Regions from separate parts of the Homo sapiens genome. Here all the other regions are linked to region 2. The links are contacts of gene promoters, found by promoter capture Hi-C in human tissues and cell types (Jung and others, 2019). All regions are on one chromosome and are shown on one strand. Each heading gives the region's core, a stretch centred on a gene start or on the middle of the fragment in contact. The rest is flanking DNA. Distances are from core to core; before and after follow the strand shown.

Region 1 (3,538 bases), core at 146-2,645, 710 kb before region 2:
TCTCGTAATAGTGAGTGAATTCTCATGACATCTGATTGTTTTATAAATGGCTATAAATGGTAGTTTTTCCTGCACTCTCACACATTCTCTCTCTCGCCTGCAACCGTGTAAGACATGCCTGCTTCCCTTTCCACCATGATTTTAAGTTTCCTGAGGCCCCAGCCATATGGAACTGTGAGTCAGTTAAACCTCTTTTCTTTATAAATTACCCAGTCCAGGGCAGTTCTTTATAGCAGTGTAAGAATGGACTAATATAGATCCATTTTGTGTTAATATTTATATATAGTGTGAAGTATGAATAGTTCATTTGTTTTCATGTGGATATGCAATTGTTCCAGCATCATTTGTTAAAAAGGCTATCTGCAATGATCTGGATGTGTCCTCCCAAAATTCAGATGTTGAAATTTAATCACAAATCTGACAGTATTGAGAGGTGGGACTTTTAGGAAGTGATTAAGTCATGAGGCAGAGATGCCATGAATGGGATTACTGCCCTTATAAAAGAGGTTGAAGGGAACAGCCTTGACCTGCCATGTGAGGATGCAGTAACAAGGTGCCACCTTGGAAAAAGAGATCATTCCCTCACCAGACACTAAATCTGATAGTGCATTGATTTTGGACTTCCCAGCCTCCAGAACTGTGAGCAATACATTTCTATTATGTATAAATTACTCAGTCTAAGGTATTTTTGTTATAGCTGCCTGAATGAACTAAGATACTTTTTCTCTACTGGATTTCCCTGTACCTTTGTCAAAAATCCTTTGTCAATGTATGTTTGGGTCTATATCTGGACTCTGTATTCTGTTCCATTTATCTGATTGTTTATTGCTATGCCAATACAACACTGTTTTGACTATCACAGCATTACAGTGTCTTGAAGTCTGGTAGAGTTAACCGCAATTTTTCTCTTATTTTTCAAAGTTGTTTGAATATTTCAGGTTTTTGCATTTCTATGTGAATTTTAGAATCAAAATATCAATTTCTATATGAATAATACTGGATTTTGAGATTGAATTGAATATATAGATTAATTTAGGGAGAATTGACATCACAACTATATGTTGTGTTTTCTTACCACCGAACAAAATATAATCTCCTTTTATTTAGATTTTCTTTTATTTATCTCAGCATTGTTTTATATTTTTCAGTGTAGAGCTCTTTCACATCTTTTGTCAGATGTATCCCAAGCTTTTCATTTTTTGGAAACATTGTATTTTAATATCAATATATGATTGTTCATTCCTAGTATATAAAAAAGGAATTTATTTTTGTTTCCGTTTCTTACTTTTCTTTCTTATTGCACTGGCCATAATCTCCTGTGCAATGTTAAATGTTGTCCTTGTCCTGTTCCTAATATTAGGGGAAAGCCTTCAGTCTTTCACCATTAAGTATAATGTTAACTCTAAGTCTTTCATAGATGGCCTTTATCAGGTTGAAGAATTTCCCTCATATTCCTAGTTTGCTAAGATTTGGATTTTTTTTCACAAAAAAACAAACAAAAAAGCCCACAAGAATCAGCTGGGCACAGTAGCTCACACCTGCAATCTCAGCACTGGGAGGCTCAGGTGGGCAGATAGCTTGAGTTCAGAAGTTTGAGACCAGCCTGAGCAACATGACAAAACCCTGTTTTTACCAAAAATACAAAAATTAGCCAGGCAAGGTGGTATGTGCCTGTGGTCCCAGCTACCTAGAAGACTGAGGTGGGAGACCCACCTGAGCCTGGGAGGTGGAGATTGTGCCAAGACCCAAGATCACACCACTGCACTCAAGCCTGGGCAACAAAGTGTAAACCCATCTCAAAAAAAAAAAAACCCACAAAAATTGATGTTGGATTTTGTCTAATGCTTTTTCTGTGCTATTGAGATGATTATATGGTTTTTGTTCTTTCTGCTGATATGATGTGTCACATTTATTGATTTGAACCATCTTTGTATCCCTGGGATAAATCCCCCTTGATCATGGTGAATAATCTTTTTAATGTGCTGCTGGATTCAGTTTGCTAGTATTTCATCCGAGATTTTTGCATACTGGTCCATCAGAGACATTGGTGTATAGTTTTCTTTTTTTGTTGTATTTTTGGTTTTGGTATCAGCGGAATGTTGACCTCATAGAATGAGTTTGGAAGTAGTTCCTCCTCTTTACTTTTAATTTTCCTTTTAACCAGGAAGAATGAGCTTGAATCTTCTTTACTTTTTGGGAATAGCTTGAGACATATTGTTATTGGCTCTTTAAATGTTTGGGCGAATAACTCAGTGAAGCCATTGGGGCCTCGGCTTTTCTTTGATGGGAGGCTTTTTATTACAGATTTAAGCTCATAACTCATAAGGGGTCTGTTCAGGTTTTCTGTTTCTTATTATTTCTATCTTGATAGGTTGTATATGTCCAGGAATTTATCTATTTCCATTCAGTTTTCTGATTTGTTGGCATATAGTTGTTTGTAATGTAATAGACAAATAATTCTTTGTATTTCTGTGATATTAGTTGCAATACCTCGTTTTCATTTCTGTTTTATTTATTTAGATCTTCTTTTTTCTTGGTCAGTCTACATAATGGTTTGCTGATTTTGTTCATCTTTTTAAAAAGCCAACTTCTTGTTTCATTGATATTTTATATCTTTTTATGTCTCAATTTTATTTATTTATGCTCTGTTCTTTATTATTTCTTACCTTCCACAAATTTTGAGTTTGGTTTGCTTTTGCTTTTCTAGTTCCTTGAGATGCATTGTGATATAGTTTCAATGTGTGTTCCTGCCTAAATCTCATGTTGAATTGTAATCCCCAGTATTGGAGGAGGAGCCTGGTGGGAGGTGATTGGATCATGAGAGTGGACTTCATCCTTGCTGTTCTCATGATAGTGAGTGAGTTCTCATGAGATCTGGGGGTCCTTATATTCTCATTTTCCACACAATGGGGGGGATTTAGCCAAGGAAATCTCTTAGTGTCAGGTCTGATACAGCCTACAAGCAGCTGCAATGACACTGGGTTCCAGGTGCAGGTGCTTGCAGTAGTTGTGAGTCTGGAGTCCTAGGCTTAGTGTCTTGTGAACCTATTTTGGCACCTGGGTGTTGGGGTACTGGTTTGCTCTCTGTGGTGGGGTTGGTTGTAGCTTGCTCACAGAGATAGAATCTGTCACCTTGAGGTAACTTCTAGCAGCTCAGGCCCAGAGGGCTGGGTTGTAGCTATGATTATATCCCTGGGGGTCAGAGCACAGCATTGGCCCAACTCCAGGGAGTAAGGGATGCTCTGGAGGTTTGGGCCTGGGGAGAAGGGTATGGCTGCAATTCAGGAACCTGAGCCAATAGGGCTCAGTAACAACTTGAGTGCCGTGAGTGCCACGAGATAAGGCACCATGTAGTAGTAACTATAGACCTTGGGATGGTGGGGCTTGGCAGTGTCCCAGACTGTGAGGGCAGGTGCATTGACAGCAAGTACCCCAGAATGGTGAAGCACAGCTGTCGTTTTGCCCTGGGGAGGGCAGAGCACAGCACAGTGATCATTTGACTCTCCAGGGCTCAGAATCTAGAGGGCTAGTCCAGCTT
Region 2 (3,183 bases), core at 684-3,183:
CTCATGCCTATAATCCCAGCACTTTGGGAGGCTGAGGCAGGCAGATCACCTGAGGCCAGGAGTTTGTGACCAGCCTGGGCAACATTGTGAAACCCTGTCTCAAAAAAAAAAAAGAACGAAATGAAATCTAGCTACCTTGATCATCACCATCATTTCATAAAATAACCTTCAAACACCAAAAAATAGAAATAATAATCTCAGAATTCACATATTTAAAAAATTTTAAACTAATACACTCTCCTTACATACAAGCCCATTTAAGACCCCTTTCCCCAATCACAATCCTCAAAGGTGCTCAATTTTGCCAGTGTATCCCTCAGGATATTTTCTATGCATACTCAAATACATGTATACTTAATTTTTTTTTTAAAGTTTTTTTTTTTTTTTTCTAGAGACGAGGTCTCACTATGTTGTCCGGGTTGGTCTTGAACTCCTGGCCTCAAGAGATCCTCCACCTCCAATTCCCAAAGTGCTGGGATTACAGGCGTGACCACTACGCCCAGCCTCAAATAAGTGTATACTTTAAATACACATTGAATCTTTTTTCCGACTTGACAATGAATCAGACACATTATGTCCATACATAGAATTCTTAAAGTAAACTGAACTTCATGAAAAACTCACTGTAGCATCCTTGTGTTACTACAAACCAGTCAACATTTAATCACAGGCTGTTAATCATCCACAGTAGTGTTTGGAACCAAAGGCCTGTGCCCCAAAGAGGAGGAAGCAATTGAGTTGGAGCTTGAAAAGCAGAATTCAGTTAAGCAGAGCCAGAATTCAGTTAATTCAGATCCAGCAGGATGTCCAGCACCAACGGTGGAGGTGATGGTGGTCAAACTCACATCTCCAGCAAAAGACGCAGACGTCAAGTTTACAACTAAGCAAGAGCATGGGGCTATCCAGCTCTACCACGGTCAGCTGTTCTTTGGACAGGGCTCTCGCATTCATTACCTTATCTAAAATACCGGTAAAACCTATTTTGCAAGGCGAAGGAGGAAAACACATGAAGGAATGTATATTACAAGTACTCGTTAAACTCATGTGTTGCACAAGTGCGAGGTATCATACAGGGAACAGTGGGAAATGGAGGTACGGCGTAGAACGAGGCTCCTGAAAGAGGAATCTTTGGGGCTTGAAGTTTCGGGAATTCTTTTACTAGGTAAAAGATAAACATTTAGAAATCATTCCCAGGAGAGAGGCGAGGAGCGGGGTGGGAGGGGACTAGCACAGGGGACAGCTCCGAGCCTTTCTCCAGGGAGGATGCTGAGCGCGGTCGTGGACCCGTTGAAGGATCTCCTTTCCTGCAAGTTGGTGTGTGCTGGAGGAAAAAGGAAAGCAGAAGGGAAGGGCCTTAGAGAAAAAGGCGAGTACAGAAAACGGAAAAGAGGGCACAAAGCTCTCTTCTAAAAGCTTTTTATTTCTAAACACGTCAGTCCCTTCTTCGAATATGGGATGAAAAGTACGGATCTTTTCCTCAAAAAATCCTCCGTTGCACCCCGAAGCCCATCTGAGCACCTTAAGAAGTCCGGCTCTCTAGGGTGAGTGGGCGCCTGCGGCGGGCTCCCCCCAGCATCCTCTTTCTGTAGCCCCCCTGCCCGGTCCGCAGGATCCGGTTCTCCGCAGAACCACCCCTACCCCGCCACGCCTGTCTGGCCTGAGGAGCTCCCCTCCCAGCCGCCCTGCTCCCGGACCTGAAAGACTCACGTCTCCGCGGCCTCGTTGTCCCACGGCCCGGCCACGCGCGCAGGTTTGGTTCCACACGGGCGGTCCAGAGGGCTCGGAACGGGCCCACTGGTGTCTTCGAGAAATCTCTACCAGGCGCGAACACGCGGTGGTTTCATTGGGTTGGCTGCCCCTCGGTCCGGGGGCAGCGCCGCGCAGCCACCCGGCAGCCGCGCCCCTAGCCTTCGCGAAGCTGGAAGACAATCACTAATTACCGCCGCGCGCAGCGCCGCGGGGAACCACCGCCCCCTTCGCCCAGGACTGCAGGGCATGCGCAGTGCGACCCCGGAACCCGGCTCCGCAGACGGATCCGCTTTTCCGTGTGTTCGCCGACGCCGCGGGGGCGTGGCGCGGCCCTAGCGCATTGTAAGCAGTTGGGGGTCATTTCCTCGAGGCCCTACTCGCTAGCCAGCGCCCCCGGGGCCAGCCCTGGCTGCTGCTGGGAGCCGGGTCGTAAGGGGCAGCGAGATGTTTCTGACGCTGCCCCAGGCACATGAGCCCCGGGTCCTTCGGGAGGGTCCCGAGCCACTCGGGTCGGATTTCGCTCTTGAGACAAAGGCCTGGCTCGTTCGCGGAGCGGGGCCACGGTCCAAGAGCAGAGCTAGCAAAGCGGCGGCCTTGCACAGGGGTTCCAGCCTGCGGTGGGAACGGAGAGTCTCAGGGGGGCGGGGCTGCCTCCGTCTGGCCCTCGGCTGGCTGCGAAACGTGGACTGGGTGATGCCTCAGGAGAAACCACCCTAGTAGTTCCGCTCCGAGGGCGGAAGTGCGCGTCTCTTGTTTGTGCGGCTGACCAGTTGGCGACATGGTGGCACCCGTGCTGGAGACTTCTCACGTGTTTTGCTGCCCAAACCGGGTGCGGGGAGTCCTGAACTGGAGCTCTGGGCCCAGAGGACTTCTGGCCTTTGGCACGTCCTGCTCCGTGGTGCTCTATGACCCCCTGGTAAGAGAGGTCGCTGGACGGCCGACCCTTGTGCTTTTCGGGTTGAACCTGTGGACGTGCTCCGGGCGCGCTGTTAGTTGCCGCCCCAGACCTAGGAGGCGAGTCGGGTCGGCTCAGGGGAGCGGGGTTTGGGCTCGGAGTCTCCAGTGGACCTGCCGGACTCGCTCCTCACCCCTCACCCTTTGCCGTCTCACGCGTGGCGTCATCCTAGGGTCATTGCTGCCCATGAGCTGCTAGTAACCTGTTAGTCCCACGCAGAAACCCGAATGATAAGCATCTTACCTGAAGCCTTCCTTGGGAACTGTAGTACCGTTAATCAATTTGGGTTTTAAAACAATTGAAATTTATATGTAGATTAAAACCATCATCCCACAGGTGCAATCTCATTTCAGTATTTCCTTCAGTTTTGGTTAATGAACTTTTGTTGTATTGAATTTCAAGGAAATGTTACCTGTGTTTTAGCTACGGGAATGGACATTTTAGAGAAAGTGTCAGTTTGGGGGAAAGGTCATAGGGGA
Region 3 (3,572 bases), core at 855-3,354, 730 kb before region 2:
TTAGCACCTATATAAAATTGCCTGCAATCCTTTTTTAAAGCTGGAAGAAGCTTTGAAGGAGCTTCAAAGCTTCCTCAGCTATGATCAATTTATAGTTGGATTGGGTTGGGTTCTTTCGGAAACAGATTCTGAGATGAAGTTGACCGAGCAGTCTGTTTGAGGAATGTCTTTGGGATCAATGTGTGCGGGAGGAAAAGGAAGGAAAGGTGAGAGAGCAAAGGGCCGGATGGGCTGTGATACAACCCAATGGCAGCCTTAATCAACCCCACAGGGAACTCTGCTATTAAAATGACCTGTCAGAGTTGTCCTGTTTGTGCCACAATGTCCAGATCTTTACCCCCCCACCAGTTGTTGAATATGGACCACTGGAGGAAGAACAGGACCTTAGGCAAGGCAGCCCTCCAGCTGAGAGAGGCCCTGAAAGCATTGTATCTGTCACCAGCCCTGTGGCCAAAAGTCGTGATGGAAGCTGCTCAGTGCACATGTGTCTTATACGCTACTGGGCCACATCATGGCTGAAGCCTGAATGAATTCCAAAGTGAAAATTGACCAAAACCATTATGGCTTATTTAAATTCAACTATTGATGATAGTTAAATTTTGTTTCTCTAGGGAAAAATGCTAAACTAAATAGGATGCCAGGAAAATAGATATAAACTGGGACTGTCCCATACACATCAGGTCCATTTCAGGCAAATCGAGATGTATGATAGCCCTATGAATAACTGGCATTAGAAATGAGAATGGAGACATGGTTACAGATTGGCAGAGATTAAAAGAATAACAATTTGAAATTTAGAAATATTCATTTGAAATTCCTTGAAAATACAATTTTCCAATTTACTGATAGAAGTAGAAATAGGAAACATTAAATGCCCAATACTGCTAAGGAAATTGAATCTATAATTTTAAATCATCCCCCCACCCCACAAAAACTACAAGCCTAGATAGTTTCACTAATGAAATCTTCCCGAACATTTAAAGAGGAAATAGTGCCAACCTCAAACATTCTTACAGATGTTAGAAAAATAGAAAATATTCTCATTCTTATTTTATAAGGCCAGGATAACCCTGAAATGCCAAAAGCTAATAAAAACATTACAAAAAAAAGAAAAAAATGGCAAGGTAATTTCACTAATGAATACAGTTACAAAAATCTAAATAAAATATTAGCAAAATCCCTCAGCAATACATACAACATGATGAAATGGGTTCATTCCAGGAATGCAAGGTTTACTTAATACTATTGGAAAATTATTAAATGCAATCCACTATATTAACAAAACAAAGAAGAAAAATCATATGATTTAATAGATACAGAAAAGGCATTTAATAAAATCAAATCTCTATCTATGTTGAAAAGAAAAAACCAACCTCTTAGCAAACTAGAAATAGAAGGAAAAATCCTTAATACAATAAAGAGTATTCACAAAAGACCCACAGCAAACATTACCTTTAATAATGAGATGATCAAGCTTTCTTCTAGACATGGGAAACAAGACAAGGATCTGAGAAACAAGACAAGGATTCCACTGTTACTACCTATACTCAACATTGTCTTAGAGATCCTGGCAGAGACAAAGGCAAGGAAAAAATTTAAAAGCTAAGGATTAGAAAGGAGGACTTTTGGCTGGGTGTGGAGGCTCATGCCTGTAATCCCTGCACTTTGGGAGGCAGGTGGATCACCTGAGGTCAGGAGTTCGAGACTAGCCTGGCCAACATGGTGAAACCCAGTCTCTACTAAAAATACAAAAAATTAGCCAGATGTGGTGGCGGGTGCCTGTAGTCCCAGCTACTCAAGAGGCTGAGGCATGAGAATTGCTTGAACCTAGGAGGCAAAGGTTGCAGTGAACTGAGATCATGCCACTGCACTCCAGCCTGGGCAACTAGAGCAAAACTCTCTCTCAAAAAAAAAAAAAAAAGGATTTTTTAATAAGACATGGTAATATTTGTAGATAACCTATAGATAAATTAAGAGCTTTAACAAGTTCAATATACAACAAGCAACTGCATTTTTACATTTCAGCAACAGGTTGGGAAGTAAAAAAAATTTCCTTTAAATAGTCATTAGAAATTAAACACCTAAAGCATGTAACAAAAGATAGGCATGACTTCTTTATTTATTTATTTTATTATACTTTAAGTTCTAGGGTACATGTGCACAATGTGCAGGTTTGTTATGTATACATGTGCCATGTTGTTGTGTTGCACCAATTAACTCGTCATTTACATTACGTATATCTCCTAATGCTATCCCTCCCCCATCCCTCCACCCCATGACAGGCCCTGGTGTGTGATGTTCCCCTTCCTGTGTCCATGTGTTCTCATTGTTCAATTCCCACCTATGAGTGACAACATGCGGTGTTTGGTTTTTTGTCCTTGCGATAGTTTGCTCAGAATGATGGTTTCCAGCTTCATCCATGTCCCTACAAAGGACATGAACTCATCCTTTTTTATGGTTGCATAGTATTCCATGGTCCATATGTGCCACATTTTCTTAATCCAGTCTATCATTGATGGACATTTGGGTTGGTTCCAAGTCTTTGCTATTGTGAATAGTGCTGCAATAAACATATGTGTGCATGTGTCTTTATAGCAGCATGATTTATAATCCTTTGGGTATATACCCAGTAATGGGATGGCTGGGTCAAATGGTATTTCTATTTCTAGATCCTTGAGGAATTGCCACACTGTCTTCCACAATGGTTGAACTAGTTTACAATCCCACCAACAGTGTAAAAGTGTTCCTATTTCTCCACATCCTCTCCAGCACCTGTTGTTTCCTGACTTTTGAATGATCGCCATTCTAACTGGTGTGAGATGGTATCTCATTGTGGTTTTGATTTGCATTTCTCTGATGGCCAGTGATGATGAGCATTTTTTCATGTGTCTGTTGGCTGCATAAATGTCTTCTTTTGAGAAGTGTCTGTTCATATCCTTCGCCCACTTGTTGATGGGGTTTTTTGTTTTTTTCTTGTAAATTTGTTTAAGTTCTTTGTAGATTCTGGATATTAGCCCTTTGTCAGATGAGTAGATTGCAAAAATTTTCTCCCATTCTGTAGGTTGACATATAGGCATGACTTCTAAGCAAAAAGTTTTGAAATATAATTGAGGGAATCTGAAGCACTCCCAAATAATGAGAACAATCTTGAAACAGAACAAATTTGGAGGTCTCATACTTCCTAAATTCAAAACTTATTCCAAAAATACGGTAATCAGAACAGTATGGTACTGGTGTAAAGACAGACCTACAGACCAAAGGAATAGAATAGAGAGCTCAGAAACAAACTACCCCACACATAGTCAAATGCTTTTTAACAAGGATGCTGAGACCATCCAGTGGGGAAAGTCTTTTCAACAAATAGTGCTGGGAAGATTGGATATCCATATGCAAAAGAATAAAGTTGGACCCTTACACATCATACAAAAATTAACTTAAAATGAATTAAAGACCTAAATGCAATAGCTAAAGCTATAAAACTCTCAGAATAAAACAGGGGAAAATATTCAAGACATTGGATTTGGCAATGATTTATTCAATATGAAACCAAAAGCACAGGCAACAAAGCCAAA

Evidence for each region. Contacts are between HindIII fragments. The study calls those that stand out against the background at their distance.
Region 1: a contact is called between a fragment that was not itself captured here and the fragment with the promoter of SLC39A6 in region 2, in 1 of the 25 tissues and cell types used here (lymphoblastoid cells).
Region 3: a contact is called between a fragment that was not itself captured here and the fragment with the promoter of SLC39A6 in region 2, in 1 of the 25 tissues and cell types used here (lymphoblastoid cells).

Annotation. Positions count from the first base shown.
Region 1 is chr18:35,419,090-35,422,627 of GRCh38, forward strand. No RefSeq gene overlaps it. Among named protein-coding and RNA genes, the nearest start is that of ZNF396, 44 kb to the left of the region's middle. The HindIII fragment of the contact is 6,427 bases long and covers 1-3,538 here.
Region 2 is chr18:36,127,407-36,130,589 of GRCh38, forward strand. It overlaps SLC39A6 (solute carrier family 39 member 6), which reads right to left and starts at 1,934. Exons shown (of 10, transcript NM_012319.4): 1 at 1,708-1,934. It overlaps ELP2 (elongator acetyltransferase complex subunit 2), which reads left to right and starts at 2,493. Exons shown (of 22, transcript NM_018255.4): 1 at 2,493-2,665. The coding sequence starts at 2,528. RefSeq lists enhancers at 1,732-2,237, 1,860-2,154, 2,185-2,374, 2,238-2,743, 2,535-2,744. The HindIII fragment of the contact is 7,969 bases long and covers 1-3,183 here.
Region 3 is chr18:35,401,885-35,405,456 of GRCh38, forward strand. It overlaps LOC105372063 (a long non-coding RNA gene), which reads right to left. Exons shown (of 3, transcript XR_935376.3): 2 at 1,453-1,507. Among named protein-coding and RNA genes, the nearest start is that of ZNF396, 26 kb to the left of the region's middle. The HindIII fragment of the contact is 4,091 bases long and covers 60-3,572 here.